2 separate regions of the Homo sapiens genome follow, and region 1 is linked to region 2. The links are contacts of gene promoters, found by promoter capture Hi-C in human tissues and cell types (Jung and others, 2019). All regions are on one chromosome and are shown on one strand. Each heading gives the region's core, a stretch centred on a gene start or on the middle of the fragment in contact. The rest is flanking DNA. Distances are from core to core; before and after follow the strand shown.

Region 1 (5,708 bases), core at 2,692-5,191, 130 kb before region 2:
AAAGAGAAGGGAACTCCTACACACTGTTGGTGGGAACGTAAGTTAGTACAGCCACTACTGAAAACAATATGGAGATGTCTGAAAAAAACAAAAACAGAACTACCATGTGGGCTGGGCATGGTGACTCACACCTGTAATCCCAGCACTTTGGGAGGCCAAGGCTGGTCGATCACCAGAGGTCAGAAGTTCACAATAGCCTAGCCAACATGGCAAAACCCCTTCTCTACTAAAAATACAAAATTTAGCTGGGTGTGATGGAGGGTGCCTGTAATCCCAGCTACTTGTGAGGCTGAGGCAGGAAAATCACTTGAACCTGGGAGGCAGAGGCTGCAATGAGCCGAGACCAGGGCATTGCACTCCAACCTAGACAACAAAAGCAAAACTCCGTCTCAAAAAAAAAAAAAAAGAACTACCATGTGATCCAGCAATCCCACTACCTGGAATTTATCCAAAGGAAAAGAAATCAGTATATAAAAAAGATAACCTGCATCTCCGTGTTTACTGTAGAGCCGTGTTTACAATAGCAAAGATATGGAATCAACCTAAGTGTTGATCAGGGGACAAATGAATAAAGAAAATATGATATATATACACAGTGGACTTAAGCCATAAAAAATGAAATCATGTTTACAGCATGGATGGAACTGGAGGTCATTATGTTAAGTGAATAAGCCAGACACAGAAAGGCAAATATCACATGTCCTCACTTACATGTGGGAGCTAGAAAAGTTGATCTCATGGAGGTAGAGAGTAGAATGATACCAGAGATTGGAAGGGTGTACGTGGGTGGGAGAGGTGGATGAAGAGAAGTTGGGTAATGGGTACAAACATACACTTAGGAAGAAGGGATAACTTGTAATGTTCAATAGCAGAGTAGGGTGACTGTAGTTAACAAAGTACTGTAAATTTCCATAGCTAGAAGAGAGGACTTGAAATTTTCCCAACACATAGAAATGTTAAATACTCAAAGTGATTGATACCTTAAATATCCTGACTTGATTATTGTACATTCTATGTATGAAGAAAAGCAAAATATCACATGAACTCCATAAATATGTAAAAATTTTGTGTATCAATATATTTTTTGTTTTGTTTGTTTTTTTTTTTTTTAGATGGAGTCTTGCTCTGTCACACAGGCTGGAGTGCAATGGTGTGATCTTGGCTCACTGCAACCTCTGCCTCCTGAGTTCAAGCCATTCTTGTGCCTCAGCCTCCTGAGTAGCTGGGACTACAGGCGTCCGACTCCACACCCAGCTAATTTTTGTATTTTTAGTACAGACGGGGTTTTGCCATGTTGGCCAGGCTGGTCTCGAACTCCTGACCTCAGGTGATCCTCCCGCCTTGGCCTCCCAAAGTGTTGGGATTACAGGCACAAGCCACTGTGCCCAGCCCAATTTTTTTTTCTTTTTGAGACGGGGTCTCACTCTGTCACGCAGGTTGAAGTGCAGTGGCATGATCTTGCTCACTGCAACCTCTGCTTCCTGGGTTCAAGGAATTCTTGTGCCTCAGCCTCCTGAGTAGCTGGGACTACAGGTGTGCACCACCAGACCTGGCCAATTTTTGTATTTTTAGTAGAGATGGAGTTTCAGCATGTTGCCCATGCTGGTTTCTAACTTCTGGCCTAAAGCAATCTGCCCACCTCAGCCTCCCAAAGTGCTGAGATTACAGGTGTGAGCAACTGGGCTGGGCCTAAATTAAATATTTTCAAAATTTAAAAAATACTCATTTCTAAGGATATATTTTTCCTTATATAATTTCTACAGTATTCACCACATGGAGTGCAGTGAGGCAGTTCCAGAACTCAAGGTAATAATGTAAGCATATTAATAATATTTAATTATTAACAATTAATAATTAATCAATTAATAACATATGCATATGAGATCAGCAGGAGTCACACTAAAAGCCAAAAAGCATTTCAGGTGAAAAACAGCAAGGGTAGGCCAGAAAACACAAAGAAATCTTGACTGAAAAGTCAGCAATAAAAAACACTATTGAATAAAAAGGAAGGCTCGATATACTAGGGCTGGCAGGGGAGCCAAGCAAGTAGATCCAGAGCCAGAATGACAGCAGGGACCTGGTAGGCCTTGCTTGTTATCTCCAGCAACCAGCCCCACGCTTAGCAAACAGTATTCTGCATCCTGTATGATTGCAGGTATATTCCAAATGTGGGGATGAAGGCAACTAGTATTTACAGTCCAATGCCACCAGCCATGAGGATGACCCATCTTGGCTGAAAAATAAAGACCTTAAATCTAGGAAGCGGAAGATACAACCCAGGACAGCAGGAAGGGGAGACCCGGTATGAGAAGAACTGAGGCCCAACCCAGTTTAGAGAGGAGACTGAAGGCTAAAGGAGGAAGGTTTCCCAGGAAAAAAAAAATTAGGATTTGAAAGTTGATGCTATCTTTGATAATTTGGAACAACGTAAATAAGTAGAAATGGCAGGGCCGGGCGCCGTGGCTCACGCCTGTAATCCCAGCACTTTGGGAGGCTGAGGCGGGAGGATCACCTGAGGTCGGGAGTTCGAGACCAGCCTGACTTAATATGGAGAAACCCCGTCTCTACTAAAAATACAAAATTAGACGGGCATGGTGGCTCATGCCTGTAATCCCAGCTACTTGGGAGGCTGAGGCAGGAGAATCGCTTGAACCTGGGAGGCGAAGGTTGCGGTGAGCCTAGATAGCGCCATTGCACTCCAGCCTGGGCAAGCCGAGATAGCGCCATTGCACTCCAGCCTGGGCAACAAGAGTAAAACTCCTTCTCAAAGAAAAAGTAGAAATGGCTGGGAACCGTGGCGCATGCCTGTAATCACAGCACTTTGGGAGGCCGAGGCAGGAGAATTGCTTGAGGCCAGGAGTTCCAGACCAGCCTGGGCAACATAGCAAGACCCTGTCTCTGTTTTAAAATTTAAAAATTAGCCAAGCATTGGGTGTGCGCCTGTGGTCCCAGCTACTCGGGAGGCTGAGGTGAGAAGATCGCTTCAGCCCGGGAGGTCGAGTCTGCAGTGAGCTAGGATCGCACTGCTGGGCCACAGAGCAAGACCCTGTCTCAAAACAAACAAAAAATAAATTCATGTATGTTAGCAACAATTACTATTTAATTTAAAACTTCCCCATTCCGATTCCATCCTCACCAAGCACGTTCCTTCGCCTGCAGCTTCGGTCTAGAGCCTGAGCGAGCCGAGCTGCGGATGCCAGGGGCTGGGTGGACTCCGCAGCTAAGCTACTGTAAAACACGCACCTGCTTCTACCGCGGGTGTACACATGGTTTGCCAGGGTGTGCGCGTCTTCCCAAGGGGTCTGGGGACCAAATTCCAGCTCCCGCCATCGGGAGGCACGGTAAGAGACCGTAGGGGACACAATCCCGAGCACCGCAGATGCCGAGGTCTCCGCTGCGCTCCAGTCTGTCAACAGAGGCTTCAGGACCGCGGGGTCCCTTCAAATGCCCCGCCAGTCCCAGGCCAATCACCGCGCAGCTTCTTCCGGGATCGTCGCCAATCATCGGCCGTTGCGTATTGCGGGTACAGAGGGGTAAGTGAAGCTTCGGGCCCTTACATCTTTCTTGAAGGCAAGAAGCCTCTCCTCTACTTCCCAGACACCCCGCCTCCCCCACTAGAAAAAGCAGCCGAAGCGGCTTTATTTAAGGGCAAGTGGGACGATGAGGCCAGAGAAGTCAGAAAGGCTCCATATTTGATATGGTCAAATAATGGCGCCCTTAAGAGCAGCCTGTGACAATTGAAGGGTGGTCGCCATATTTTCAGAAGGCACCTTCCGGGTCCCTTAACCCGGGTGTCTATGTCCAAGCGGCCATGAAGTGAATAAACACTGAGGAATTATATTTGTCCCTATCAGAATCCTCGAATCCCTAGCAGCCAGTCCCTGCTACTTCGGTTGCCTCGGCTGCGTTCGGACGCCACGGCTGGGCGGGGCCGCCCTTCCTGTGGACAACGACAGCTGAGGCCGGGAGCGGGGAGGCGGCGGCTCCAGGGACCTGGCGGCCGCCGATCGGGGCTGCGAGGCCCCATGGCGCCGCCCCCAGCCCCGCTCCTGGCGCCGAGGCCCGGGGAGACCCGGCCTGGTTGCAGGAAGCCCGGGACTGTGAGCTTCGCGGACGTGGCCGTGTACTTCTCCCCGGAGGAGTGGGGCTGTCTGCGGCCCGCGCAGAGGGCTCTGTACCGGGACGTGATGCAGGAGACCTACGGCCACCTGGGCGCGCTCGGTGAGAGCCCCGGGTCCGAGCCCCCTCCTCCTTCACCGGGTTCACAGGGGAGATGATGTAGAAGGGCCGAGAGGACTGTGAGCCCTAATCCCGCACTCTTGCACCAACACCAGCAGCCACCTCCCGTTCCCAGGGCTTCAGGTACCCCCTCGGGAGTGTTTTCACCCGCATCCATTTCATTCAGGCAGCAGCACTGCAGCCCCTTCCAGGTTGAGTATAAGCTCCGAGGGGGTGCCCTCAGCCTGGAGGGGAATGCCATCTTCCCACGATGGCCTCTCAGGCCCGCGCTGTGATCCCTGTTCTCTCCCAGGATTCCCAGGCCCCAAACCAGCCCTCATCTCTTGGATGGAACAGGAGAGTGAGGCTTGGAGCCCCGCCGCCCAGGATCCTGAGAAGGGGGAAAGACTGGGAGGAGCTCGGAGAGGTGAGGGATAGTCCCGGGTCCCCCCACTTGGTTTTCCAGGGCTTCCTGTCTAGCAGAGTTTCTTTTCAGGCCCCCACTTCCAGCATCCCTAAAGAAATTCAACTGTGTTGGGTACTAGAGGAGTAAAGAAGGCAGACCTGGTACAAAGTTTTCAGAACATGGGACAGCGGTCCTGTGAGGACTGGGAGCCCAGTCCAACCAGGCACTCCAGCCTGGGTGACAGAGTGAGACTCCGTCTCAAAAATAAATAAATAAATAAATAAATAAATAAATAAATAAATAAATAATAGCCCCTGCTTCCTGAGCACTTCCTAAGTGCTTAACATGCATCTACTCAGCTAAACCAGTAACGCTGTGAAGTCAAAAGCCATTATTATTCCCATTTGATGCATAAGGAACCAAGGCTCAGATAAGGCACTTTTAGGAGATCTGAATCCTGTTTACCTTGTTCTAAAGCCTGTGTGTTAATCACTGGACAGAACTTCCCTCACTGCCTTAAGTGAAAAGCATTCTATAACCTGAGACAGTCTGTGCAAAAGTGTTTGTAAGTGTAACTTAATTCCGGTTTCCCAGGAGATGTCCCAAACAGGAAGGAAGAGGAACCGGAGGAAGTCCCAAGAGCCAAAGGGCCTAGAAAGGCTCCTGTGAAGGAGAGTCCTGAAGTGCTGGTGGAACGCAACCCTGACCCAGCTATTAGCGTGGCCCCGGCACGGGCACAGCCACCCAAAAATGCTGCCTGGGACCCGACCACAGGAGCACAGCCCCCGGCACCCATACCCAGCATGGATGCTCAGGCCGGCCAGCGGCGCCACGTGTGCACGGACTGCGGCCGCCGCTTCACCTACCCCTCACTGCTGGTCAGCCACAGGCGCATGCACTCGGGGGAGCGGCCTTTCCCCTGCCCCGAGTGTGGCATGCGCTTCAAGAGGAAGTTCGCAGTGGAAGCGCACCAGTGGATCCACCGCTCCTGCTCCGGGGGGCGGCGGGGCCGGAGGCCTGGGATCCGGGCTGTGCCTCGGGCCCCCGTCCGAGGTGACCGGGACCCGCCTGTGCTCTTCCGGCA
Region 2 (5,463 bases), core at 1,583-4,082:
CTTTCTTTGCACTGGCCCAAGTGAATATTGCTCCAAGTAGAAGCAACAGGGAACTGTATGGATGAAAACCTTCCCCCAAAGACCTCTGCTTCCTAGAAGGGCATGGAGTAGAGGTTATGAGTATTATCAAGGAGGCCCCTCAGCCAGGTGCAGTGGCTCATGCCTGTAATCCCAGCACTTTGGGAGGCTGAGGCAGGAGGATCACCTGAGGTCAGGAGTTCGAGACCAGCCTGGCCAACATGGTGAAACCCCATCTCTACTAAAAATACAAAAATTAGGCAGGCATGGTGGCAGGTGCCTATAATCCCAGCTACTCGGGAGGCTGAGGCAGGAGAATCGCTTGAACCTGGGAGGCAGAGGTTGCAGTGAGCTGAGGTCAAGCCACTGCACTCCAGCCTGGGTGACAAAAGCAAAACTCTGTCTCAAAACAAAACAAAACAAACAAACAGAAACAACAGAGCAGCCCCTGCTCTGCAGAGCTTACAAACGAGGGGGCCAGACAGATAGGCATGGCATTATCACATGATTAAAGAATTACAGGGCCAGGCGCGGTGGCTCATGCCTGTAATCCCAGAACTTTGGGAGGCCGAAGGGGGCGGATCATGAGGTCAAGAGATCAAGACCATTCTGGCCAACATGGTGAAACCCTGTCTCACTAAAAATACAAAACATTCGTTGGTTGTGGTGGCGGGTGCCTGTAATCCCAGCTACTTGGGAGGCTGAGGAAGGAGAACTGCTTGAACCCGGGAGGTGGAGGTTGCAGTGAGCCGAGATCGCACCACTGCATTCCAGCCCGGGTGACAGTGCGAGACTCCATTTCAAAAAACAAACAAACAAAAAAAAGAATTGCAAATTGTACTAAGTGCAGAGAGGGAGAAGTCCAAAGAACTAAGAGAATGTATAACCAGCACCACCTGACCTAGTCACTTTTTAACTCAGGTGAGGTGATTACAGACATAATACAATGTTTTCCTCTTTCCCTTAGAGATATGAGGATCCTTTCCCTGTACAATAGGCTTAACATTTTGCAAAACACTTTTCAGCTGAGGTTTCCTATGGCCCTTCCACTAGATCCTAAGCAGAGATTGTGACCCTGGTTTAACAGAAGAGAAGACTAAGGTGCAGAGAGGCTAGATCACTTCCTCAAGGTCAGCCAGCTCACTGACAGCAATGCAGACATCATACAAGGTCTTTTGCTTTCACTGTATTTTCCCACTCCATCATGCTTTCTTTTTGCATGTTTTTTAAATTCTGAAATATAGCATACCTACAAAAATAGTGTGGGAAAATATCTATGTGCAGTTTTTTTTTTTTTTTTTTTTGAGACAGAGTCTCGCTCTTTCACCCAGGCTGGAGTGCAGTGGTGCAGTCTTGGCTCACTGCAACCTCTGCCTCCCAAGTTCAAGCAATTCTCCTGCCTCAGCCTCCCGAGTAGCTGGGATTATAGGCGCTCACCACCATGCCCGGCTAATTTTTGTATTTTTAGTAGAAACGGGGTTTCACCATATAGATCAAGCTGGCCTCGATCTCCCAACCTCGTGATCCACCCGCCTCGGCCTCCCAAAGTACTGGGATTACAGGTGTGAGCCACTGTGCCCGGCCCCGAAAATATCTATGTACAGTTTAAAGAACAACCATGTACCACGTACCCACCACCAGCCCAATGAACAGAATTAAACATAGCCCAGAAGCTCCCTATGTAGCCCTCCCTAGACATAGCCCCTATGCTGAGTCTTCTATTCATTTTCTTGTCTTTTAAAAAAGTTTTTATTGGCTGGGTGTGGTGGCTTATGCCTGTAATCCCAGCACTTTGGGAGGCCGAGGCCAGCAGATCACTTGAGGTCAGGAGTTTGAGACCAGCCTGGCCAACGTGGTGAAATCCCGTCTGTACTAAAAACGCAAAAATAAGCCGGGTGTGGTGGCGCACACCTGTAATCCCAGCTATTCAGGAGGCTGAAGCAGGAGAATCACTTGAACCTGGGAGGTGGAGTTTTTAATAGATATTGGCAAACTGCCCTTCATGGCTATATAAGATATATATATATATTTATTTACAGAGATATAGGAATTTTAGAATAGACCAGTCCTATGTAACCCACTCTGTTCCACAGATGGATGAGTCAACCGACGCGGAGAGTGACTCCACACAAAGCTGGTGGGAAACACCATTAGAATCCATGCAGGTGTCTGGACTTCCAGTCCTAAATCTCTCTTTTTGTGTGTGTCTGTGTGTGTGGGGGGGGTGTTTGTTTGTTTGTTATTGTTGTTTGTTTTAGAGACAGGTTCTTGCTCTGTCGCCCAGACTAGAGTGCAGTGGCGCGGACGCAGCTCACTGCAGCCTCGACCTCCTGAGTCCTAGAGTTCTTGAAGTTCCTGTTAACATTTCATTATATTGATGCTGCCTGCAGTTTGCTAACTTAATGGTAGTAGTTTAATTTCTAATTTCTCATGCTTTCTGTTTTTTCCCTTGGGCTATTTTGCCATCCTGGATCGATCATGTGCGCTGTCAAGTGACCTTTGGGACAATCCTGCCGATCATGAGGTTTGCCGAGTGACCAATCTTCCCTCGTCTACAATTTGCTGGACTTGGAAAAGTGACTGGAAGGGAGCAGAGTTCCGTCAGCCACTGCCAAGAAACCATTTAAATTACTAAGAGAGCGAAGGAAAGCACGTGACGTTCTGCAATCCCGTTGCAAGCGGTTTTGCAAGCCGGAGGTTGTTGCACCTTTTAGAGTCTAGGAAGCCCGCCTCTCGGTGGCGGAGTCGTCATTGGATGTTGCGGCTGTCAATCGCCAGGGCTATAAATAAGGGAGTCCGGCGGCTCCTCTATCAGGAAGATTGTGCATGCCGTGGGTCTGACGGCTTGAGTAGCGCTAGGGAGAATCCCTGCAGGTAATATTTGACTTTTGCTTCATATTAATCTGAGTGGAAAATAAAAGGGCCCTCTTCTCCTCTCGCTTCCCTGCCGGGCAGGCGCCATGGCGGAAGCCTCGGCGACGGGCGCCTGCGGAGAGGCGATGGCAGCGGCGGAAGGCTCCTCGGGCCCGGCGGGCTTGACTCTGGGCCGGAGCTTCTCGAACTACCGGCCCTTCGAGCCCCAGGCGTTGGGCCTCAGCCCGAGCTGGCGGCTGACGGGCTTCTCCGGCATGAAGGGCTGAGGCTGCAAGGTCCCGCAGGAGGCGCTGCTCAAACTCCTGGCGGGACTGACGCGGCCGGACGTGCGGCCCCCGCTGGGCCGGGGCCTGGTGGGTGGCCAGGAAGAGGCGTCCCAGGAAGCCGGCCTGCCGGCAGGAGCGGGCCCCAGCCCCACCTTTCCAGCCCTGGGCATCGGGATGGACTCCTGCGTCATCCCCCTGAGGCACGGGGGCCTGTCACTGGTGCAGACCACGGACTTCTTTTACCCCTTGGTAGAAGATCCCTACATGATGGGGCGCATAGCTTGTGCCAACGTGCTGAGTGACCTCTACGCCATGGGGATTACTGAGTGTGACAACATGTTGATGTTACTCAGCGTCAGCCAGAGTATGAGTGAGGAGGAACGCGAAAAGGTAACGCCACTCATGGTCAAAGGCTTTCGGGATGCGGCTGAGGAAGGAGGGACGGCAGTGACCGGTGGGCAAACGGTGGTCAACCCTTGGATTATAATCGGTGGAGTTGCCACTGTAGTATGCCAACCAAATGAGTTCATAATGCCGGACAGCGCCGTCGTTGGGGACGTGCTGGTGTTAACCAAACCGTTAGGAACCCAGGTTGCTGTCAATGCCCACCAATGGCTGGATAATCCTGAAAGATGGAATAAAGTAAAGATGGTGGTCTCCAGAGAAGAGGTGGAGCTGGCCTATCAGGAAGCCATGTTCAATATGGCTACCCTCAACAGAACTGCTGCAGGTTTAATGCACACATTTAATGCCCATGCGGCCACAGATATCACAGGCTTTGGCATTCTAGGACACTCCCAGAACCTTGCAAAACAACAAAGAAATGAAGTGTCCTTTGTTATTCATAATCTGCCAATAATTGCCAAGATGGCTGCCGTCAGCAAGGCCAGTGGACGGTTTGGGCTTCTTCAAGGAACCTCAGCTGAAACCTCTGGGGGATTACTGATTTGTCTGCCAAGAGAACAGGCGGCTCGCTTTTGTTCTGAAATCAAATCCTCCAAGTACGGAGAGGGTCACCAAGCGTGGATCGTTGGCATTGTGGAAAAGGGAAACCGAACGGCCCGGATCATTGACAAGCCGCGAGTTATTGAAGTCCTGCCTCGTGGGGCCACAGCTGCTGTTCTTGCTCCTGACAGTTCAAATGCCTCCTCTGAGCCTAGCTCGTGAGATGAAAGAACAGAAGTTGTTTGGACCTTAGAGCCATTGTCCACAATCACGGATGGTTCTCAAGAGTTGATTGTAAGAAATTTCCAAAGAAGGCTGCCTGCATAGTGGTTCCGGCTGCCCTTTCTAGGTGATTGGAATCAGCCCATCTAAAGCAGTCTTTATATGCATTCCGAGGCCAGAGTAACATTTTGAACTTTGGGGGGATATTTGTTCATCACTTGGGTAGAAGAGGAGCAAAAATACCTCTGTTTTCTCTTGCCAAAGTAAGATGAAGCTATTCCAGGTTGAGGGATTTTTCTTTGCACGGGGTTGATTAATTTCTGCACAGGGAGTGAGATTATTAAAGTAACACACACACAAAGTAAATTGCAAAATGAAAAAAATTAGAAGCAAATGAGTTTTGGACCAATATTGTTGATAAATCTAAATTGTTAAGAGAGATCTTATAATGCAACATCAAATTCTTTATTCAATTTTACTGAAGTACTGGCTCTTTCCTGCTCTGGACAAGAATTGAGCAACTTGTCTGATGACTGGGAAAGGAGGACCTGCAACCATCTGACTTGGTCTCTGTTAATGACGTCTCTCCCTCTAAACCCCATTAAGGACTGGGAGAGGCAGAGCAAGCCTCAGAGCCCAGGCCTCAGTGGTCATTAAGATGTTAAGTCTTTTGCGGCAGATTCCTGGTGATTTGATCAATAAAGAGTAATTTCTTGCTAAATAAATAAAAGAAACCTTGTTGAAAAACTATTCTGGCTAATGTTTGGTGGTTTGAAATTCAATACAGTCTTATAAAACGAACCAGCTTATACACTGAGTCTGGTATAGCAGAGAGAGAGTGTTTTCCCTGATGCTGGTGAATTGGGTAATTTAACACCCAGATTTAGGGTTGCACCTTCCCCCTGAAATGACAGAAAAGGACTCGAAGCAGGCATACGCCCCAAGGGTTAGAGAGTGGGCAGGAAATAGCAAAAGAAAGGTGTCAACAATTCTTGAAAGATGGAAAGGAGGTGGAAGAGGGGTAACTGACTTAAAGGAATCCTTCATAGTAGGGGAAGACAAGAAGCAAGAAGATGTGCTTGGAAGATGGGGTAAGACCTGGGGATAAAACATACTGTTTGAGAGTTTATACACGGTA

Evidence for each region. Contacts are between HindIII fragments. The study calls those that stand out against the background at their distance.
Region 1: the fragment with the promoter of ZNF688 here is called in contact with the fragment with the promoter of SEPHS2 in region 2 in 5 of the 25 tissues and cell types used here (IMR-90 fibroblasts, lymphoblastoid cells, mesenchymal stem cells and 2 more).

Annotation. Positions count from the first base shown.
Region 1 is chr16:30,569,947-30,575,654 of GRCh38, reverse strand. ZNF688 (zinc finger protein 688) reads left to right here and starts at 3,941. Exons shown (of 3, transcript NM_145271.4): 1 at 3,941-4,221; 2 at 4,532-4,645; 3 at 5,219-5,708. The coding sequence starts at 4,026. RefSeq lists a silencer at 3,934-4,173 and enhancers at 5,036-5,599, 5,600-5,708. The HindIII fragment of the contact is 17,900 bases long and covers 1-5,708 here.
Region 2 is chr16:30,443,243-30,448,705 of GRCh38, reverse strand. SEPHS2 (selenophosphate synthetase 2) reads left to right here and starts at 2,832. Exons shown (of 1, transcript NM_012248.4): 1 at 2,832-5,075. The coding sequence starts at 2,979. The coding sequence ends at 4,325. RefSeq lists a silencer at 3,248-3,367 and an enhancer at 2,694-3,640. The HindIII fragment of the contact is 9,223 bases long and covers 1-5,463 here.